Regions from separate parts of the Homo sapiens genome. Here regions 2, 3 and 4 are each linked to region 1. Evidence: promoter capture Hi-C in 16 types of primary human blood cells and fetal thymus (Javierre and others, 2016). All regions are on one chromosome and are shown on one strand. The core of a region is centred on a gene start or on the middle of the fragment in contact, and the rest is flanking DNA. Distances in the headings are between cores, read along the strand shown. Region 1 holds the start of MBNL2 (muscleblind like splicing regulator 2). Region 2 has its middle 3.0 kb from the start of UGGT2. Region 3 holds the start of FARP1-AS1 (FARP1 antisense RNA 1). Region 4 overlaps STK24 (serine/threonine kinase 24).

Evidence for each region. Contacts are between HindIII fragments. The CHiCAGO score rates a contact against its expected background, and 5 or more counts as called.
Region 2: a contact is called between a fragment that was not itself captured here and the fragment with the promoter of MBNL2 in region 1, in 1 of 17 cell types (monocytes). The highest score is 6.8, in monocytes.
Region 3: a contact is called between the fragment with the promoter of FARP1-AS1 here and the fragment with the promoter of MBNL2 in region 1, in 1 of 17 cell types (M0 macrophages). The highest score is 5.3, in M0 macrophages.
Region 4: a contact is called between a fragment that was not itself captured here and the fragment with the promoter of MBNL2 in region 1, in 1 of 17 cell types (non-activated CD4 T cells). The highest score is 5.4, in non-activated CD4 T cells.

The regions. Positions count from the first base shown.
Region 1 is chr13:97,221,083-97,223,817 of GRCh38, reverse strand. MBNL2 (muscleblind like splicing regulator 2) reads right to left here and starts at 1,485. Exons shown (of 9, transcript NM_001382683.1): 1 at 1,287-1,485. RefSeq lists an enhancer at 1,404-1,463. The HindIII fragment of the contact is 4,024 bases long and covers 1,112-2,735 here.
Region 2 is chr13:96,055,034-96,057,733 of GRCh38, reverse strand. No RefSeq gene overlaps it. Among named protein-coding and RNA genes, the nearest start is that of UGGT2, 3.0 kb to the right of the region's middle. The HindIII fragment of the contact is 1,386 bases long and covers 558-1,943 here.
Region 3 is chr13:98,434,429-98,437,128 of GRCh38, reverse strand. FARP1-AS1 (FARP1 antisense RNA 1) reads left to right here and starts at 1,289. Exons shown (of 2, transcript NR_046595.1): 1 at 1,289-1,357; 2 at 1,471-1,724. It overlaps FARP1 (FERM, ARH/RhoGEF and pleckstrin domain protein 1), which reads right to left. Exons shown (of 27, transcript NM_005766.4): 19 at 1,423-1,553. The HindIII fragment of the contact is 3,650 bases long and covers 1-2,500 here.
Region 4 is chr13:98,472,093-98,474,792 of GRCh38, reverse strand. The region is part of intron 5 of STK24 (serine/threonine kinase 24); the gene reads left to right. Among named protein-coding and RNA genes, the nearest start is that of FARP1-AS1, 38 kb to the right of the region's middle. The HindIII fragment of the contact is 5,160 bases long and covers 1-2,700 here.

The DNA.
Region 1 (2,735 bases), core at 236-2,735:
GTCTAGAAGAATCTACGTGGCATTGCCCTTATTTAAATGAGTAGTTCTACTGCTCCTTGCAAAACAAGTAGGATAGCTGAAGAAACTTCCTCTTATTTAAAGATTATAAGAATGTTCCCCCTGCCTTTTTTAAAAACCTTATTGTCCCCAAAACACACACATTACCCAATTAACAAATAGCTTTCCACTTAACCTTTGTCTTTTAAAGGGACAGTAATGTTTCTTGTAGAACATTCAAGGTGGTGGTGGTTAGGCAAGTCAGATTTTTTTCTTCGCTTCAGTGCTTGCTAACTATTCTAAAAATGTTACACATTTATTGTAAACACATGCTTCCGAGGCCTAACAAAAAAGCACAGTTTCCTCATGCCTGGCAGAAATTTAAAACGGAAAAGGGCAGAAAGAATTCTTTAGCAAATATATCCTTTCCTTCTCCTGGGCCAAGTGTGTTAAAAATAAATCTTCTCCATCATTTCTCACTGCTGCTTCTCAGCGAGAAAGTTGATATGGTTCGGCATAGTGAAAACACAGCTTTAAAAGCTAGCCTGCCCTCATTAAATTATTCTGCTGGCTGTGTGTTCTCATTAAAAATGCATAAAGATCAGATAATTGCAGTAAGCATTATTAACCCAGCTTTACTTTTGAATATAATGGTTCCACTTTTAAGCTGGAAACAAAGGCTCAGACATGCCAGGAAAAGAAATGTAAACATTGAACTACAGTATCGAAAACTTGCCAGAAAGCTACCTCTTGCTAGGTTGTTTAAAATGTGCTTTTGAAACTCAATTAAAGCTGTAGCATTGTAGAGCTAGGTAGGTCCCTAATTTTTAATAAATAGACACATACGTTTGGCCAAACATTCAACCGATGATTATTTACCATGAATTTTTTTTTAATCCTTAATTGCAAGTCTGTTTTCAAATAATAGGATCCATGTAAACTTTATCTATTTGGGAACTAGCTATGGCAATATAACAATTTTTCACAGCAAGAAAATAAGATTGCTCCAAAGAATTCAAATGGTTTTTAAAAAATAATATAATAAATGAATCGATTCTTTGCATAAAAACTCGATTTCTTGCCTCACCCCAAACAGGCGGCATAGATTCAAGCTTTGCCATTTCTTTTTCTCAAATCAAAATGTTACGTAAAACTCCAGGGTCCCCCGCAAGTATTACAATTGAATTAGTGGAATCCAGTTTCCCTGGCTCCCGTAAGCAGCACACATGGAATGCAGCATACTGCAGCAAACTCTTTAAACATTCAAAAAAGGGGGGCGATTCTCCTACCTTGTTTAGCTCTGCCTGTCCTTCCCATTTACAGTAACCCCAGGAACATCTGGCAGAACCAAGTGGCCGAGGCTTCTCCACCGCATCATGAGAAAGAAACTTCCATGTAAATAGTTCTCATTCCCTGTTTATTGTACTCTGAAAGCCGTCTGCCGTATCTGGAAAATTTTACCTTCAGATGATGAAGCAAAGACAGTCTAAACTCTGTTGCTGTAAGCTGCAGCCCTTCCTTCCGACAAATCCCTCCCAGCCGGGGCCAGCCAATCCCCAGCCAGCTCGTCAGCCCTACTCGTCTGAAACTGGCCCTAATAGGATGACTGACACAGTAACACAGCACTTGCAGTGTGTAAAAACAGTGCATCCATACTGATGAAAGAGGAATTTCCCTCTCAGAAGAAAGCAATCATAGCACCAAGACAAAGTGGCACATAATTGGCAGAGCAGAGAGAGGGGTAGCTCAAGAAAACACCCTTGAAGACAGCCAGCTCGAAGCCAGGAGCTTCACCGTGAACACTTGGGAAAATGTGAAACTCCGCAGATTCCAAAGAAATCCAGGTTGTACATGAAACTGAAGTCCTTGGACTATCTGACAAAGCATATGTATATGTTTTTTAAAGGAAAAATAATTCAACGTCTGCCATGGCAGTTAATACCTTACAAAACATTTACATATTTCCATTATTGAGGAAGAATGTGCTAGCCCAAGTGCGTATTCAAAATCAAAACATGCTTATAGCTCTGGCACACACAGGTTTCCTGTATAACATCTGTTATTGCAGTGGTTAATTACTGCGGCCCATTTATCTTTCGTCTAAGTTTTCAGACCACTTGGGACTTCGATTAGGGAATGCTGGACAATAAAATTGATATCTATACACTACCCTTTTCTACTCTTGGCAGGCACCCACGAGAGGATTAGGTGTGCTTTAACCATCTTAGATGCCATTTGATAAATACTGTGCATTGGCTCACATTATCGTTAATGAAGCAATGATTATAGGAAGATGTTTACTGTTGAATACAAGGGGTACATGATCCAAGGGCCCCCATGAGGTGCCATTCCACAAAAGATGTTCTAGGAGGTGCTGGAGTTTCCTGAGATAAAGCAGAAGAAGAGAAAGTTTAGGAAGGGTTATTTATTTATTTATTTATTTATTTATTTCCCAGTCTACAGCATTTCTGTATGCCTTGAAAACAAAAACTCAAAAACATATGGCATTGAGCAAACACAACAAGCATACATTTTCCTCCCCTAAATACCACATTTTGAGAAAAAAAAAGTATGATGATTACATGATGAGACCAAGACAGAACAAAGCCTTTATTCATCTGAAAGGTTGAACCCAATGCACGATTTTTATAAGCAACTGTTCAGCGCATCTGTAATGAAGCAACAGAATGCAATGGAATGCTTTCTTTTTATTTTGCCATTGCATCTTAAAAACATAA
Region 2 (2,700 bases), core at 1-2,500, 1.2 Mb after region 1:
GATGGCCACAAAAGGACAAATACTGTATGATTCTCCTTGTATGAGTATCTAGAGTAGTCAAATTCATAAAAATTGAAAGTAGAATGGTAGTTGCCAGGGGCTGGAGAGAGAATAGAGCATTTTTGTTTAGTGGGTGCAGAGTTTCAGTTTTGCAAAATGAAAAAGTTCTGGAGACTGGTTGCACAACAATGTGAATATACTTCACACTATTGAGCTGTACACTTAAAAATGGTTAAAATGGTAAATTTTATGTGTATTTTACCACCATTAAAAATACTTCGATTTAACCATATAAGTATAGATGGTTGTTGTTAAATAGCAAATCTCAAGTTCTTACATCATCCAAAATGATTAATTTAAAAATTATATATTTCACATCCTTTATTTGCTATTTGAAAGCCACTGTAGTAAAAAGCTCCACTAAAAAAATTCATCAAACATACTGGGATTAGACATTTGTGAGGCATTTATTATCTATCTTAAATAAAATATGTAAACCTGTAAATATCAAACTTGCAGACCCTTAAATTTTAAAAAAAGCTATAAAGAGTTAAGCTTAAAACTAAACATAAAAAACCTAAACCATACTCGTTTGATTATGATTTTGGTATAATCTTGTCTAGGGAATAGTGATGTAACAAATTACATAAGTCTCTAAATTTTTCCCAACTGGAATGAGTAGAAAACTTTTGTGTATTTAAGATATTTAAATAATATCCAGGCACGGTGGCTCATGTCTGTAATCCCGACGCTTTGAAAGGCAGGGGTGCACAGATCGTTTGAGCCCAGGTGTTCAAGACCAACCTGAGCAACATGGTGAAACTCCACATCTACAGAAAATACAAAAAATTAGCCAGGCATGGCGGCATGTGCCTGTGGTCCCAGCTACTCAAGAGAACCACTGCACTCCAACCTGGGCGACAGAGACTCTATATCAAAAAAAAAAAAACAAAAAAACAAAAAAACAAAAAAAACAACTCCACCCTGGGTGACAGAGAGAGAATCTATATCAAAAAAGAAAAAAAGGAAAAGAAAAAGAAAAAGATCTTTAATTTAATTTATTTATTTTTGAGATGGAGTCCCATCTGTTGCCCAGGCTGGAGTGCAGTGGTGCAATCTCGGCTCACTGCGACCTCTGCATCCTGGGCTCAAGTGATTCTCCTGCCTCAGCCTCCTGAGTAGCTGAGACTACAGGCACCTGTCATCACACCCCGCTAATTTTCGTGTTTTTAGTAGAGATGAGGTTTCACAATGTTGGCCAGGCTGGTCTCAAACTCCTGACCACACGCGATCCACCTGCCTCGGCCTCCCAAAGTGCTGGGATTACAAGCATGAGCCACCACGCCAGGACAAAAGATCTTTTAATAATAAAACGAGAATAGGAGAATAGGGTCTTTCTTATAAGGGAAATCTGGAAAACCTACAGAATAATACTTTTAAAAGTGAGTTCACCCACTGGATTTTATGTAGGCTTAGAAAATTAAAATTTTATTATATAATGCAATAATTTGGCAGTAACTTTGTACTCATGTCATGCCATTATTATCATTAAATACATATCATTAAATTCAAGATGATTTATTCTGTTAAACACAAGATTCTTATTATAAAGCACTCATTAATCACTTCTTCCACATATGATAGAAACTGCTACCTTCATCAATTTTATTCCTTTTATCCTGCAGTGAATAACTTTTGTATTGTATTTTGCTAAAAAGACTTAGGTAGAGTTAGGTCCGTAGTTCAAAGCCAATCTGTGCCAAAGGGTTATTGATAGTGGATTTTAAAATACTTTGCTACTCCACTGACTGGAGTGGACTTTGCTAATTTACTCAATTTTTGCATTTTAGTATTTTTTTATCTGCACATAGGAATCACATATAGAAGGAATCTTAAATATCACATTGTCTTATCCTTTTGCTCTGTAGATGGGGAAACAAGCTTGGGGATCATCATTCTGAGGAATGTTTCAAATTAAAATTTCTAGGAGAACACCATGTAAGATAAAATGTATAACAAATATATTCATAGATGGCCTAGATTAGATTAATTTTATTCTCTTTAAAAGAGAAATGAGCATTCTCACTATTCTGAACTCACATATAGTGAAATTTTTACTAATATACATTTTATTAGTGTCCTTTAATAGTCTATTTAATGTGCCTTTTATATGGCCAATTATTTCTTAAAGATTTGCAGTCCATTGGATATGCTGACATGTAAGACATTCACTGTCAATATTTTATTTCCTTAATCCCACAATCTCAATAAAAATTTCGGTCTAAATATGAGTGGAAATGGGGAGTTAATTAAAGCAAATAATTGTGAAAGATTCGTAATGTATTTTTCTCGTATACACTATGGATAGAAATGAAGTGCATTTGCCTTAGCTTTCTACATTCTTTCCATAAAGCAAGGGTTCTTCAATCTTCATGGAGTCCCCAAATAACATGTGAATGTGAAGTATTGTGCTAGGTACTGCACGGGATGCCAAAGATGAACAAGGCATGAGTTCTGGGGGAATATACTATCTCTCACAGGAGAAATAAGTAAGTAGCGTACTCAAGTATTAAAGTGAGAACTTAAGTGCTATATGGCAGTTACAATAAAGAGGAAATTTAAAGTAAGGATAGATCATACCAAGTAGGATAAATCAGGAAATGAAGGCTAAACTTTGGAAGTGAGAAATTATTCTGGAAA
Region 3 (2,700 bases), core at 40-2,539, 1.2 Mb before region 1:
GTGGGGGAAAACGAAGATAATTAATATGTATTATGTCATTTTCACAGAGCAAATCTCATTTGATCTTAATGACCTATGAGGGAGAGGCCATGGTCTCCATGTGCATGGTCCCCCGCCACCCCGGCACTGGTAGAGCGAGACTTTGAACCCAGGGCCACCTCCTCCAATCCAAGGTTCTTTCCATTGCAGTGGAAAACATTTCCTCAAAAAAAGGAATTCTTTATCAGTGGTCTGTTCACCATGTAGCATGAGATGCTAAATATTTTATAACTTTCAAAGCTGAGAGAAAATTACATCGATTCCACAGGGCTTTTCTGAGGGTTCCGTGTGGATGGGTAAATAAGGTCATTAAGTGCCGAGGCCTGGCAGGATCTTGTCACCAGCAGAGCTGAGGCCATCCCAGCTCTAATTTCTGCCAGCGCTTACCGCATGGCTCTTCTGACAATCTCTCACAACGTGGCTTCTGGTCAGTTCTGTAATTAGGCTTCCTGACAGAAATGCTCCAAAACAAGGAGAGCTTCCTTCCCCTGCCCTGAGTTACAGATGTCAAGTTTCCAGGGCAGCTGCTTGTTGGAAAAAGACTAAAAGCCCCTGAGATACTGGATCCTGCAGCAGCAGATCAAAGCAGCTACAGTGAGTTGTCTCTCGACCTGGGTGACGTAGCATTTGAAATGGGGGCGCCACAGGGTAAAGATCCCAGAGAGAGATTTGATGAGACGCAGCAACTGAATGATACGTTTGATTCCTGGGTGATGATGGCTTTCTAGGAAGGGAAGTGGAGAAGGCAGGCTTTGTTCCTGTCCTCCACATTGTCACTGGCCTGGAAGGAGTGTGTGCGGGAAGCCCTGTTGAGTAGGAATCACCTGCATCTCAGGCAGGGGGCTGGGGAGGGGTAGGCGACAGTGTCAGTGAACTTGCATCTCTCCTGGAATTGCTTTCCAGCTAAGATTTGGTATTTTAATTTTGAACTCAAATTAAATTATATATGGAAGATTGAATTTTAAAAAAACACTTCATACCTGCATGGGAATTTCTAGCATAATTTAATGCACTACCTTTCTGGCTTTATTACTATTTACCTAATTTTTTTTTTAATTTTCCATTTTCATTTATGTACATTTAAAAAAAATAAAATAAGCAATCTCAAATCTTCTGTGGGATATGGTAGGGGAAAAGGTAAAGAAGCGAATCACCCCGTAAGGAGAAAAAGCAGAATATGAGGTCAGAGGATTGCTTTATCTCCTCCGAACACAATGATTCTGAACTAACGACACTGTTGTGTTTTTCCAGTTGTCTCCCAGGTGGATGGAAAGAGGACATTTTGCTTTGCAAGGGTCTCTCTTCAAAAGGTTCAAATGTAAGTCCCTCCGATGCCTCCTTTCTGCTCCCCGCGCAGTGCATAGTGAGGCCACTGCTGCTTACCCTTCCCGGAACCACAAGATTGTCAATGCCAATCAAATCTTTCTTGAGTTCGTGCAGCTTCTGGAAATTCTCCATCTTGATCATCGTACCGTGGAGCTGTGCCACCATCTCCGTGATCTCTGCCAAAGCGGCTGTGAAGGAAAGACATACACAGTCTGCAGCGGGAAAGGCAGGCAGGGGTCTTCCCCTAGCAGCTGTCAGCTCAACGCTGCAGGGAAATCACTCCAGTCCCTGCACAGTATTCAAAGGTGTCTTTTGAGCAAAAACAGTGCTATTTCTCTATAATAAAAATTGATGGTGTATTTTCTGTATTTATTTGCTTCACTTTAGCATCTTAAAACTAAGTGACCCCTGCATGGTGACGTGGCATACAGCTGTCCTTCAATTAGACGGACCTGTTGGCTTAGAGGGGAAAGACACGGGGGAAGAAGACTGCCTTGAATTTTGTCCCTGGGTAGAGACTTTTCTTTTCCCTCCTGTTACTCGGAAAGAACAAGGCACAGTGAGCACAAAGAGGCCATAGAAAAATCTGGAGCAAAGTCAGCACCTCCTTGGGAGGAGGTGTAATTGATATTGTGAAGTGTCAGTATATTCCAGGTAACTAACATTCCACCACACCCCAGTTCTGTCTTGTGTGGAAATTACACTGTTTACCAAGATGGTTGTGAAGAATTGCTGTAGAATTCAAATTTTTTCTTTTCTTTTATTTGTTTGAGACAGAGTTTTGCTCTTGTTGCCCAGGCTGGAGTACAATGGCATAATCTCAGCTCACTGCAACCTCTGCCCCCAGGTTCAAGTGATTGTCCTGCCTCAGCCTCCCGAGTAGCTGGGATTACAGGTGCGTGCCACCACGCCCGGCTAATTTTGTATTTTCAGTAGAGACAAGGTTTCACCATGTTGGTTAGGCTGGTCTCGAACTCCTGACCTCAGGCGATCCACACGCCTTGGCCGCCCAAAGTGCTGGGATTACAGGCATGAGCCACCACATCAGGCCTTTATTTTTCGATAGAGGCACGGCTCCCCTATACTGGTGGGCATCCAATATTTAAAAGAAGCTAGTGCCTGATTAATACAAGCTTGGGTGGCACGCAAGTCCCCAGTGGCTGACAAGTTTGGGTGGCACTCAAGTCCCCAGCGGCTGAGCACTTGGGTAGTTTGGTCAAGAAAAGCAAGAAATACTTGTTGACTGAACTTCAGTCTTCAGAACTCTAAATACCTCTTTCACTGCTTTCCCCCAGCATTTCAGTGTTGGAAGGGAAGCATTTAGTTTTCTTGTTT
Region 4 (2,700 bases), core at 41-2,540, 1.3 Mb before region 1:
CCTCACGAGGCCTGGAGGGCTCCCGCCTTTTGTTCTTTAGCCTGGTAGCTTTTCTAAGTTGGAACGAAGCTGGTACCTTGAGGTAGGTCATAAAGGTAATTCTTCAACCTTGGTTATGAACAGTTTTCTCCTCTGTCTCCTGCTGTATCATTTAATACCCTGTGCTGATCCAGCCCACCATGATCGAGGTTTTTAACTCAGGCTATGTTTGTTTGGTGGCAGCGGGGACACAGGATGGAGCGGGTTTGGAGGGGGGTGGGAGGAACTGAAGGGCCATGGTGGTGAGGGGTGGAGGCGTGTGCGGTTGCAGAGGGGCTCCACCTGCTGTCTGGGCACAGCTGGGGGTCGAAGTGCAAGTGCGTGGAATCGGCAACCTTGAAGGGGCCTGTAGAGAAAGGGGCTCCCACAAGAGAAAGGGAGTCCACGGAAGCGTGAGAATGGAGGAAGAACAGTGCTTTGAGTGACTGCTGCAGGGTCTTCCTATTATTTTTAGTTCTGAGGATTCTCGTTCCCAGCCTGTCCTTGTCAACATGTGATGAAACCCTAACCCTTTCTTCCCACTGTTTTTTACTTGTCCTGTGTTAGGGACACTCTCCTAATTTTTCTCATATTCTTTTTCTCTGTTGCCCTCCACTTTTGTGAACTCTGTTAGATGGGACAAAAAATCCCGGGACTTTGCCTCCTAGGGCTCTGGTTTAACTTCAGTTCGCACAGTCTGCTCTTCTTAGGACCCTGTACACAGTTAAAAGGCCACATGATCCACGGAGAATTGGCTTTCCTGGGCTCCAAGTTTCTGAGCAAACAAATACCTAACTCAGATATGCATATAGGCCGAACCTTGCTGCTGCTTTTAAACAGAAATCTTCCCAGTACCCAGTAAACTTCCCACCTTGTTAAACATAGTACAGGAAGCACCAGGTGACTTTCCCTGCAGACCCAGGTCACCGTTGCAAGCTATAGACTGTTAGAAAGCGTCCAGGTTGTAGCTCAAGTTGCAGGCGTACCTGGTTCCACCTTGGGAGGAGTGAGCCCGTCTCACTGTTGAGTGGTAGCGGTGGCTGTGACTTTTCTGAGCACTATGATGGCCTTGACAGCCTCTGGCTGGTGAGTGACTGATGGGTTCCCCCACCCCCCACATACCCACACAGCAGACCTGGCTGGTCTTGGGTGTGTGCCCTTGCCTGGGAGTGTCTCTACCCCACGTGGGAGGGACACTGCCTTGGCTGCTTCTCATCTGCAGTCACTTTGGCTGTTGACCCTTTTCCTGGGGTCATGTAATTTTGGGACTCGACCAGGAACTTACATGTTTAGTCCATTCTCTTTATTTTAAGCTGACCCCATTTATCAAAGTTCATCTGTGTAGATTTTGGCAAGGCTGAGACTAGAACCCATGTTTCTTAACTCATTGGATGACACCACCTCGATTATTCTCTTCTCATTCTTTGTAGTAAATTAGCTGATCTACCATGTGACTGAGGACTCTGATTTTAGATTTCCCTCTCTCCCTCCTTCCTTTCCCCTTTCCTTCCTCCCCTTCCTTCTCTCTTTCTCTCTCTTTCATTATTGTATTTATTTCATATTGATTCTTTCATTTAACCCATTCTGTGTAGGCACATTTTTCTGGATTCCAGTAATACTGGAGTAGACAAGAACAAAAGTCTCTTCTCCTGTATGTCTTAAATTCATATGGGGGAGACTGACAGTAAACAGGAAGAATTAACAGCACTTTAGGAGCAAGCGTGCTGTGTTGTAGTCACCATTTTCAGTGAGTTACCTGCCTTAGGTGACAAATATCCCTAGAGAGTGGCGGGGCAGAAGGCATGGGCACCTCAGTGTGCGGCCATTTCAGGGTTGGGCCCTGGCAGGATGGCGTTCTAGTTGAGATGCAAGCTGAGAGAGGTTTAAAAGAGTTTTGAAAGCATCAGTGCACAGCTTTAATTGGTGTTTTGAAAGAAAACTCCAGAATAAATAGAAGAATGTTTAAAGATTTAAAACTTACCCAAGGTCAAGAATGATGTGAACCCATAAGTCAAAGAGGTTGCCTGGTACCAAGCAAAATGAATGAATAGAGATGATTACATATGTCAGAACCTTTTCCAGAGGAAAAAAGTTGTATTACAAACTTATTAAAAAATTAAGTGCCTTCAAAGGAAGAAAATCAAGCTGGTGCCATTCATTCACAAATTTGTACTGAGCAACTGCACTGTGAATACAACTGTGATCACGACAGCACACTCCCTCCTCTCCTGAAGTAGAAGAAACAATAAATAAGCAGTTTCAGATCATGCAAAGTGCCGTGGAAAAAAGGAGACAGGGCCATGTGAAGATCTTCCGCTCTTGGTTGCACCATCACTGCTCACATGAGAACCTTTATTCGAGAGCTGTCCTGTCTGCCTGAGCCATCCGCACCCACCTTCCTTGAAGGGCAAGTCCTCCCTTCAGAGTTCCAGTTCCAACTCTGAACTGGAAATCATGAGCAAACTCTTATGTTGATGTGAAATTGACTTTCCAGGTTTGTGGACCCGGGAGGCGTGTGGTGAGGGCCGATGAGGGTCACGTCTGTGTCTGCGTCTCAAAGTTCTCAGAAGTGGGGTTTCACGCTGGGGCCTTAGGGCTGAGATTTCCTTTGTTTCCCACTGGGCGTGGCTCTGGACTGGCAGCTCTTGTCGCAAGCAGGGCCTGATAAGGGCGCTCTTCCTG